3 separate regions of the Homo sapiens genome follow, and regions 1 and 2 are each linked to region 3. The links are contacts of gene promoters, found by promoter capture Hi-C in human tissues and cell types (Jung and others, 2019). All regions are on one chromosome and are shown on one strand. Each heading gives the region's core, a stretch centred on a gene start or on the middle of the fragment in contact. The rest is flanking DNA. Distances are from core to core; before and after follow the strand shown.

The links. The method cuts DNA at HindIII sites, captures the fragments that hold promoters and counts their contacts. A contact is called where the count stands out against the background at its distance.
Region 1: a contact is called between a fragment that was not itself captured here and the fragment with the promoter of KMT2A in region 3, in 1 of the 25 tissues and cell types used here (spleen).
Region 2: a fragment that was not itself captured here is called in contact with the fragment with the promoter of KMT2A in region 3 in 3 of the 25 tissues and cell types used here (IMR-90 fibroblasts, dorsolateral prefrontal cortex and spleen).

Annotation. Positions count from the first base shown.
Region 1 is chr11:118,008,686-118,011,408 of GRCh38, reverse strand. The region is part of intron 4 of SMIM35 (small integral membrane protein 35); the gene reads left to right. Among named protein-coding and RNA genes, the nearest start is that of IL10RA, 24 kb to the right of the region's middle. RefSeq lists enhancers at 174-674, 820-919 and a silencer at 1,444-1,493. The HindIII fragment of the contact is 3,617 bases long and covers 1-2,723 here.
Region 2 is chr11:118,172,754-118,175,796 of GRCh38, reverse strand. The region is part of intron 1 of SCN2B (sodium voltage-gated channel beta subunit 2); the gene reads left to right. Among named protein-coding and RNA genes, the nearest start is that of SCN2B, 2.4 kb to the left of the region's middle. The HindIII fragment of the contact is 3,855 bases long and covers 1-3,043 here.
Region 3 is chr11:118,434,931-118,437,870 of GRCh38, reverse strand. KMT2A (lysine methyltransferase 2A) reads right to left here and starts at 1,379. Exons shown (of 36, transcript NM_001197104.2): 1 at 927-1,379. The coding sequence starts at 1,358. RefSeq lists enhancers at 1-410, 411-1,409, 2,071-2,210, 1,410-2,407 and a silencer at 1,281-1,760. The HindIII fragment of the contact is 10,858 bases long and covers 1-2,940 here.

The DNA of each region.
Region 1 (2,723 bases), core at 188-2,687, 430 kb after region 3:
GGCCCCAATAAAACTCTGTACCCGCACCCTGCCTAGCAGGGATCCTGGGTCTGCAGTCCATGCCCGGCCACCCTAGGCCCCCGGAAGTGCTCAGAACTCAGTAGCCTTGGGGAATCTTGAAAGGGAGGATGGGACCCAGGACCCAGGTGGCCCTGGCCCCAGGTCTGTGGCTTCAGGTGAGGAGACGGGGACAGCTGCCCGGGGCTGGGAGCACGGAGGGTATTTCCCATCCTCGGGAGCAGAACTGATACTGGGCGACTTCCTCTTTTAGGGCCCTCTGACGCACCCTCTGTCCCCTCAGCCTCCCCCTCTTTTCCTTACTTCCGCAGGCTACTGGCGAGCACAGCTTTCTTCACCCTTGGGGCCTGGGCCTTACCCCTGGACTTTGCGTGTTTCTGTTGAGGGCTCTAAAGGGCAGATTCCAGCTTGTTTAGAAACGATTCGGGAGCAGATGCCTGGAAACCCAGCCACAGGTTTGGCTGAGCCAGGCACTGGCTGGGACCCAGATCATAGCAGTGCCAGAGCCTCTCCCAACACCTTCCCGCTACCTTTTTACGGTTCTTCTTTCCACTGGCCCTAAGAGCCCAGAGGCAGTCACGGGGGCTGGGGGTCCAAGGGCTGGCTGGTCCGGGTTCCCCTGCCACGCTTTGGTGCCTTCTCTGGGGCTATTCTCCAGCCTGGGTGGCCTCTTGTCCCTGCAGCCCCTCCCCTCCTGGCCATATCTAGTCTCTGTGAGATGGCCCAAGTCCGTCTTTGCTGTGACTTCGCTCAGGGCTTGAGACTTGACACCAACCATTTTGATCTGAATTGCAGGTGGCCACATTTCCTCCATTTGTGCTGTTCCTCAACCAGGCTGAACCCTCTGCCAACAAAGTTATGTTCCATAGGTCTTTAGTAACTCCTAAAACTGGAGCGTGCTGGAGGAGGTCAGTGACTACTTGCCGAGTAGAGAAGAGACACCCAATGTAGCCACAGAAGGCTGCTTTGTCCTAGAAAATTGATCAAAATCATGATGAGGCTGGGAGGCGAAGAGGGAGCTTTTCTCTCCTCTAAGTTCTCCTTGAAGTCTTAATGATCTCGTCCCATGCCAGTGGCATTGGAGGGGGCCAGGTGCCAGGAGCCAGGAGGGCAGTGTCTCTGGTGCCCCTCTCTCTGCTTCAGGAGTCTGAGAAACTCAAAGTAGGAGCAGATGGGAGGATCATTATTATCTTTTTAAAAACTGCTTAGTGATCAAAAGGAGGAGCAGAGACTGTTTGCACAGTTCACAGTCCACAGAACACAAAGCCTTTTCTTGCATGGTACTGCATTTTGAGCCTTATGTCAAGCTTGAGACACAGGGATTATTCTTGGTCCCGTTTTACATATGGGGGCACTTGGGTCAGAAAAGCAGCATGCTTTACCCAAGTTCCACAACTGGCTACTGGCTGCACCAGAGCTGAGCAGAGTCTGCACCCTCACGGATGTAGCTGACATCAGGGCGTAAGGATGAGAACTGAATGTAGTATAAGGTCTGGTTCTGACCCTGCCCTGATGTGCTGTGTGGTCATGGGCTACTTACTCCACCTCTTTGGACATCTATTTCAGCATCTGGAATCAAAAGATTGGACTATTTTTCCAAGGCTTCTCCTGGTTCTTACCTGTAGGAGAGCAAAGACCTCATCTACTTTTTTTTTTTTTTTTTTTAAAGCGTCTGCATTCTCAGTTCTTAGCGTATAGCCTGGTCCATAGTAGGTGCTCAGTAAACAATTAAAAGATGCAAGTACAAAGTGTCAATATATCTTTCTAATTTAGGAGATGGCAGTTGAAAGGTGATGGCTGCAGTTCCCTAGTGGTCTAGGATTCTAAGCATTACTTAGCCTTTCCTTGACTCTGCGTGTGTCTGACCAGGTTCCAAGTCTGGCCCATTCCCAACCAACTTTACCTGTAGGGTGAAACGCTAACATTTGCTGAGCACATATCAGTGCAGGGCAGAGGCTTATGATGCGCGTCTTCATCCTCACAGCCTCACAGGTGAGGGAACAGAGGCCCAGAGTGCCGTGAAGTGATTTGTTCAAGGCCAAGCAAGAATCTATTTTCTTTATAGTCCTTTGTCACCCACTTCTAGCCTCAGTCCAAACTGGCAGCTATCCTAACATCCTTGGCCCCCAAGAACATACTCCTCCCTCCAGATGGTCTCTAATCTCTTTTTGGGGTCTCCTTGTGTGGTGAGAAGGGCGCTCAGGAGCCCAGTCCTCCCCAGGCCCCATCCTCAGCTCTGAGCTTCCCACTGACCCACTCCTCTTTCTTCCTTTTGTTTTTTTAGAACTTCCTTGACCTCCAAATCACCAAATTCTGCCCATTCTTCATGCCAGCTCAAATTTCCCTTCTCCAGGGAGACTTCTGTAAGACCCATGGATCTTGTGCTCTGCTGATTTTAAATACAGATAGTCTCAGGCCCCCATAACTTTATTATTGATTATTTCTTTGCATTCATTTATTCACGCTGCTTCCATAACATGCCAGGAACTATGCTAGGCACCATGGGGGCATCCAGTCTCCCTGAAATTAACCTTGCTTTCTCCTATTTGATGGGCATTTCTTGCAGGCAGAATCAGGTTTTAAACCTCTTCTGAGTTCTCCACGGTACTTTGCATGGCTCTGGCCATAGCCAGGAACTTCTCAGGAAATTGTGTTGAAATCTCTCTTCAGAACATCTTGGGCATTGCTTCATCCCTGGTGCAATC
Region 2 (3,043 bases), core at 209-2,708, 260 kb after region 3:
CTGCTGAGGCACGCACTGATGGAGAAGGCACCTTTGGCTTGGGCCGGATGGAATGGAGGAAGGGCCAGGTGTAGAGATTCAGGAAAAAAATGGAACCCACAGGCTGAGCGAGGTTGCAGCCCTTTAAATCCAGCCTCAGAACTGCCCAGCCCAGTCTTGCAGACTGTCCTGTCAAGTGTTTGTATTTGACCACTCAGAGACTTCCTGGTGGGGAAGTGGGCTAGAAAGTTATTTGCAAGCCTGCTTTGTAGAGTTTCATTCTTGCTCCTAAACTTACTTATTGCTGGAGCAGCAACTGAGAGTCAAGTCCAAGGACTGTTGATGGAACTATTCCCCACCACAAAGGCTCTCTCTCTTTCTGTGGTGTGATGTGCTGGGTTTGGAGTAGGAGTGCTAAACACAGACAGTGCAGAGGCCCTGCCAGCCTGCTTTGCTGAGTTACTTGGCATATTAACATCAGAGCAGGAATGCTATGGAATCTCTGGCAGGACCTGGGTTTCAAGCCACCTTTGTCATTTACGTAATGATCACAGGCAAGTTACTCAACCCCTCTGAGCTTCAGTTCCCTCCCGGGTAAACTAAAGAATGCCTACTGCCTGACGTGTTTGTGATTTGGTGCATGGCAGGAACTCAACGATGGCTAACATAAGAATGCTTTTCGTGAGCCCAGGCACTGTGTATCTTGTTTAGCCCTCACAGCAATCGGAGGTAGATTCTATTATACTCAGGTTACAGGGAGGAAACAGATGACTATGGTAACGGGAGCTGAAATTTGAACTCCCTGTGTCTGACTTCAGCACATTCTCTTAAACGTTGGATTCCACTCCCCAATGTTCAAGAAATGGCACTGCTATATTAACAGTACCTAATTGATCAGAGTCTCAGGACAGGCTGAAAGAAGGGGAGTTGGGTGAGTGGCCTGTTGTAAGGAGGCCCAGCTGGAGGACAGGACCCTTTCCTCAGGAGTTAGGAAGCACTTCGTGCAGGAGAGAAGCCGCCTGGTGAGAGCCATGGCTAAGTAAAGATAGAAAGGGGGCTCAGTGACCAGGACCCAGAGCTCTGGGCTAGGGTGAGGAAGAGGGAGTCTGCGATGAAGAGGTCTGAGTGTTTGGGGTGGGGAGATGGTAGTGGGAGGAAGCTAAAGCTTCTGCAAAGCTGAGTGGGAGAGGATGCAGGAATGGGGACCTTGAACTTGAACTTGATTGGTGCTGTAATGAGGCATGTCCCTGGCACTCCAATGCTGAGGGCCGAGTTGACAGTGGAACTTTGGTGGTGTTGCAGTAGCATCGATCCCCAGGATGGAGGATGCCACAAGTGACGAGGGAGGGGACTCTGTCGGGGCTGGGCTTGTGGGGATGACTATGGAGGTGGCAAAGAGAAAGGGCAGGTGGGCAACCAGCTCTACCCACGGCAGAAGCATATGAGGCTAGTTTTAGCCAGAAACAATTCAAATGACTGGGCTTCCCTCAAGTTTTTCTTGAGACCGTTGACTCCACAGTCACTGGCCTGCTTACCAATGTATGGATTATGTTAGTGGAGGCATAGAAAGTGGAGTCTGGGCTGAGCATGGTGGCTCACGCCTGTATCCCAGTGCTTTGGGAGGCCGAGGTGGGAGGATCGCTTGAGGCCAGGAATTGGAGACCAGCCTGGACAACATAGCAAGACCCTGTCTCTACAAAAAAAAAAAAAAAAAAAAAAAAAAAAAGAAAAGAAAAATAAGCCAGGCATGGTGGCATGTACCTGTAGTCCTAACTGTTCCAGGAGGCTGAAGAAGGAGTATCAAGAGTTCCAGGCTGCAGTGAGCCGTGATCATGCCTCTGCACTCCAGCGTGGGCAGCAGAACCAAACCCTGTCTCTTAAAAAAAGAAAGAAAGAAAGAAAGAAAGAAAGTGAAGTCTAGTCCTCACTCTAGCCCACTGCACATATCTGCTGCTTGTGGTGGTGGGGACCCAGACATGGAGAGAAAGCTGTCTCTTCTTCCTTTAGTAGACTTTATTGAGTCCCCACTCTGCCACACACTGTCCTGGGTGCCAGGGATACCAAGATGAATAGGAGTCAGTTCCCCGGAGCCTCTAGAGGGAAACAGGCCCATGAACAAATAATAACAAGACAACATTGTATGTATGGCAACAATAATAGCAATAATGCTCATCATAGTCGCAGCTGACTTTTGTCCAGGCCATGTGCTAGGCACTGTGCTGAGCTTCATACAGGTAGTAAGTCATTTAATCCTTCGACAGCCCTATGAAGTTGGGCTTATTGTCCCCTATATTACAGATGAGGAAACTGAGGCACTGGGAGGTTAACTATCCTGCCATTCTGCCCTCAAGTCATGTGGAAGAGATAGGAACAGGGCTGGGGTGAGGACAAGGACAATGGGGAAACAGTCACCGAGGCTAATGCCCTGTAAGCTGGGACCTGAAGAATAAGTAGGAGGGGCCCAGGGGCAGGAGGGCAAATGAGCTTCTCAACCTGAAGCAAAAATACGTGCAAAGGCATGGAGAAGGGAAGGAAGGTGGTGTTTTCAGAAAAAATCAGAACTGGGGTCACTGGAGTGAAGGAGACCTGGGGGGATGGGGGCTGGCAGGGGATGAGGCTAGGGTATAGGTTGGTCCCAGATGCCAAAGGGCTTGGAAGCTGTGCCCAGGAGCCTGGACTTGATCCTGAAAGCAGTGGGTAGCCGTTGGAGGTCTGGAGGTGAGGAGTGATGAGGGTGGGTTGCTCCTGGCTGCACGGGGATGGACTGGAGTGGCCGGGGTTGGGGAGGCCCTTGAGCAGGAAGGGTCTGGATGGTAAGGCAGTGCAGGTGCGGAGATACGGGCTGGATGCCACACTCACCTGGGAGGCAGGGGCTGCCCCGGGAGACAGTTCATCTGTTTAGACACTTAAAAAAAAAAAAAAAAACCAAGAAGAAAATAATTACCTCATAGGTTGCTGTAGGGTGGAAAGAGGAGTGAAGAGATTAACTTCCAGTCTCTGCAAGAGACAGCATTTGGCAGATGAGCAAATTTTTATAGTCTCTGCAAGATGGGCTAGTTAGAAC
Region 3 (2,940 bases), core at 130-2,629:
AAAGCCTGCCTCCTCTCCAAGGGGAGTGGTGGAAAGCTGCTCTTCTCTAAGCCTAGGGGACAGTGGACTATTTTCCCCTCCAAGATGCCACTAATCCTTCATTCTAAAGGAGGGAAAGGGTGGAGTGAAGGTAGAGTAATTCCCGGCTACCAATAGGCTAGAAACTGTAGCCCTGTAAGACGGGGCGGGGGGGGGAAGAGACTGCTGTATGAGGAATCACCGTTATCTTCAGAGGGAAAGGAGGTGAGACCAGGCAAGGTGCAGAGGAGAGATTTTCCCCGGTGGGGTAGGGCGGGATGGGGGAGGATCGGTCTGCTTGGGGTGGGGGTAGAGGGTGGAGGTGAAGGAAGGGGGAGTGGCTGGCAGTATAGGGACCTGGCCCGGGGATGGCGCGAGGGTTCATCGGGTTTTCGAAAGCAAGGTGCTGGAAGGGACACGATCCCCAAGGGCCAGGAGAACGTGGCCCTGGATGAGGCCATCACCCGAGAGACGCCCGAGAGGAAAACTGCCCTAGGAGTAACACATCTGCCCAGAGAGGGAGGCGGGGATGTGGCGGGATCAGGTCTCTAGGAGGGAGGGAGGGAGGAATCTTGCTCGGATGAGGTAATCTGTGAAAGGGAGGAGGGGTTCAGTCCCGGGATGGGAAACCCCGGCGAGGGGGTCTGTGCCAAGGGATTTGGGGAAGGGTCAGGGGGAGGAGAGCGGGGGGCAAACGCCCTCAGCCAGATGGGCCCAAACCCCGGGGTGGGGGCGCCTGGGGGTCTGCAGCCCTGCATGGGGGTCCCAAGATGGGAGAGCCATTCGCCCCGGGTCAGGGACCCCGAGATGGTCCCAGAATTGGGATGCTCCTCAATCCCGGATGGGGGAGGGGAGGGGGCTCCGCAGAGGGTCGAGACCCCGGACCTGGGGGTTCCTCGCCCCCTTACCTCTCCGCTGCCGCCTCCCCCGCCGCTCTCCCCAAACACGGCCCGGAACCGGCGCAGGTTGGTGCCGATGGCGGCCGAGACCTGCAGCGCCGCGTCGAAGCCCGGGCCCACCCGGAGCAGGGCCGGCCCTGAAGAGGCTGAGGACGATGACGAAGACGAAGACGAGGCGGACGACGAGGAGGCTGCTGAGGCGGCGGCCGCTCCCCCTGGAACCCCAGCCCCGCTGCTTCCCGCCGCCGCCGCCGCGGCCGCCACAGCCGGGGGGGAGGGGGGCGCCCCGGGGCCGCCACCGCCGACCGGGGGCCCGGGGGGAAGCAGCAGGGCCGGGACGCGTTGCCGCGGGGCGCCCCCTAGGCCCCGGCGCCCCCCGCCGCCGCCGCCCCCGGTGGTCCCGGGTCGGGCGGGGAAGCGCCACCGACAGCTGTGCGCCATGTTCGCCCCGTGAAGTGAAGCAGCGAGAGGGAGAGGCGACAACACAGGGGGGCGGGGAGGCGGAGGGGGGGGCACGGGGCCCCGGAACCTGCCTAACCAGCTCTGCGCCGCCCGGCCGCCTGCACCCTGCCGGCCGCTATGCAGAGCGCCGGGCCGCGCCCGCCAGCCCCGCAATCTGTATAGCGGCCTCGGGCCTCCGCCTCTGACGCCTGGGCGCTGCAACTCCATCCCGAGGCCCGGGCCGCCGCCTCCTGCCCGCCCGCCGGCCCCGCAACCTGGATAACTGCATGCCCCGCCCTCCGGGAGAGGCATTGCTCGGGAAAAGGAGGGGGGAAGGAAGCCCGGGAGCCCGGAGCAGAGCGCGGGTTCCGGAGAGAGGGGGAGGGGGCGAGGACTACGCGGAGGATGGAGGCGTAGGGAGCCGGGCCGCCTGCAGCCTTGAGCGCCGAGAGGCCGATTACACACGTTCCCGGGACGCGCTGGGAATCGAACAGCCCGGGAGAGCAGCTTCCAGTATAACGCGGCGGCTGGGTCGGGGAGCAGTGAGCCTTCTCCTCCGCCCCAGGGCACGGATACAAGATGGGTTAGCCCGAATTGAACGCTTCTAGAATAAAAGAGCCCTTATTGTACTACATGCAAAACAGAAGCGCTGCCCAGTTTACTATATGCAAAACAGAAAGGCCCTCAATGAACGCACTTTAAAAAATAAAAAAGGAGCCCCTCCCATTTTCATGCTGGAGCTCTTTCCAAAAAGCACACACCGAGTGGCAGGTCTCCTGCCACCTCCTCGCTCTACTGTGCACTCGTCTGGCTTTCGTGCCCTTCTGCAGGGAGTTGGGTTGTGTTTCTCCAGCCCGGGCACTGAGGCCACGGCGTGCTCCGCTAACGACGCGGTGTTACAACGAAGCTGAAGCTGGGTGGCTAACGGGGCCTGGAGGGAAGAGGCGGGCAAAAGCGCCCCCGCCCCTTCTTCCTCCGGTCTCTGCCTGCCGCTGCATGCAAAGCAGACCCTAATGTATGCACGCAGAGGGAGGGGGGCTCGCGAGCACGTTTCTGATTAAGAGAGGGGGAGGAGGAGAGCGTTGGGCATTATGATACACTGGGTGGAAGGGGCCCGCCGGCGGCGAGCTCTGTGCGCGGGGTTAGTAAGCTGAGGGGGGAGGGGGAAAGAAGGAGGCGAGTTAGGGAGGGGAATGAATATCCACCGGGTTTACTTTATTGCGGGAAAGAGGGGAGGGCGCCTCGAGCATAGCGTTAGACGCCTGCAAGGCTGGGAAAGCCGAGAGGGTAGGGAGGGGTTTGTGTCGGGAGAACTTGCGTTGGCTGAGGCTGGGGGATCGATACACAGCCTGCAGGCCCCGGGGCAGCCTCCATCCCCCAAGCCGAGGGGGAGTTCGCTGGAAGGTCATGCAGCCTTCCTGGACTCCCGCACCGGTACAGCGCACTGCATGTAATATTACAGCCTGGGGCGGCGAATTTGGGAAGGAGGGAGAGGGTCGTTGTGAGCAGGTTGCACTCAGCTCTGGCCCTCCGGAGGGTGCACTTCACGCCTCCAGAGAAGGTCCACAGCCTCCTGGTGCTG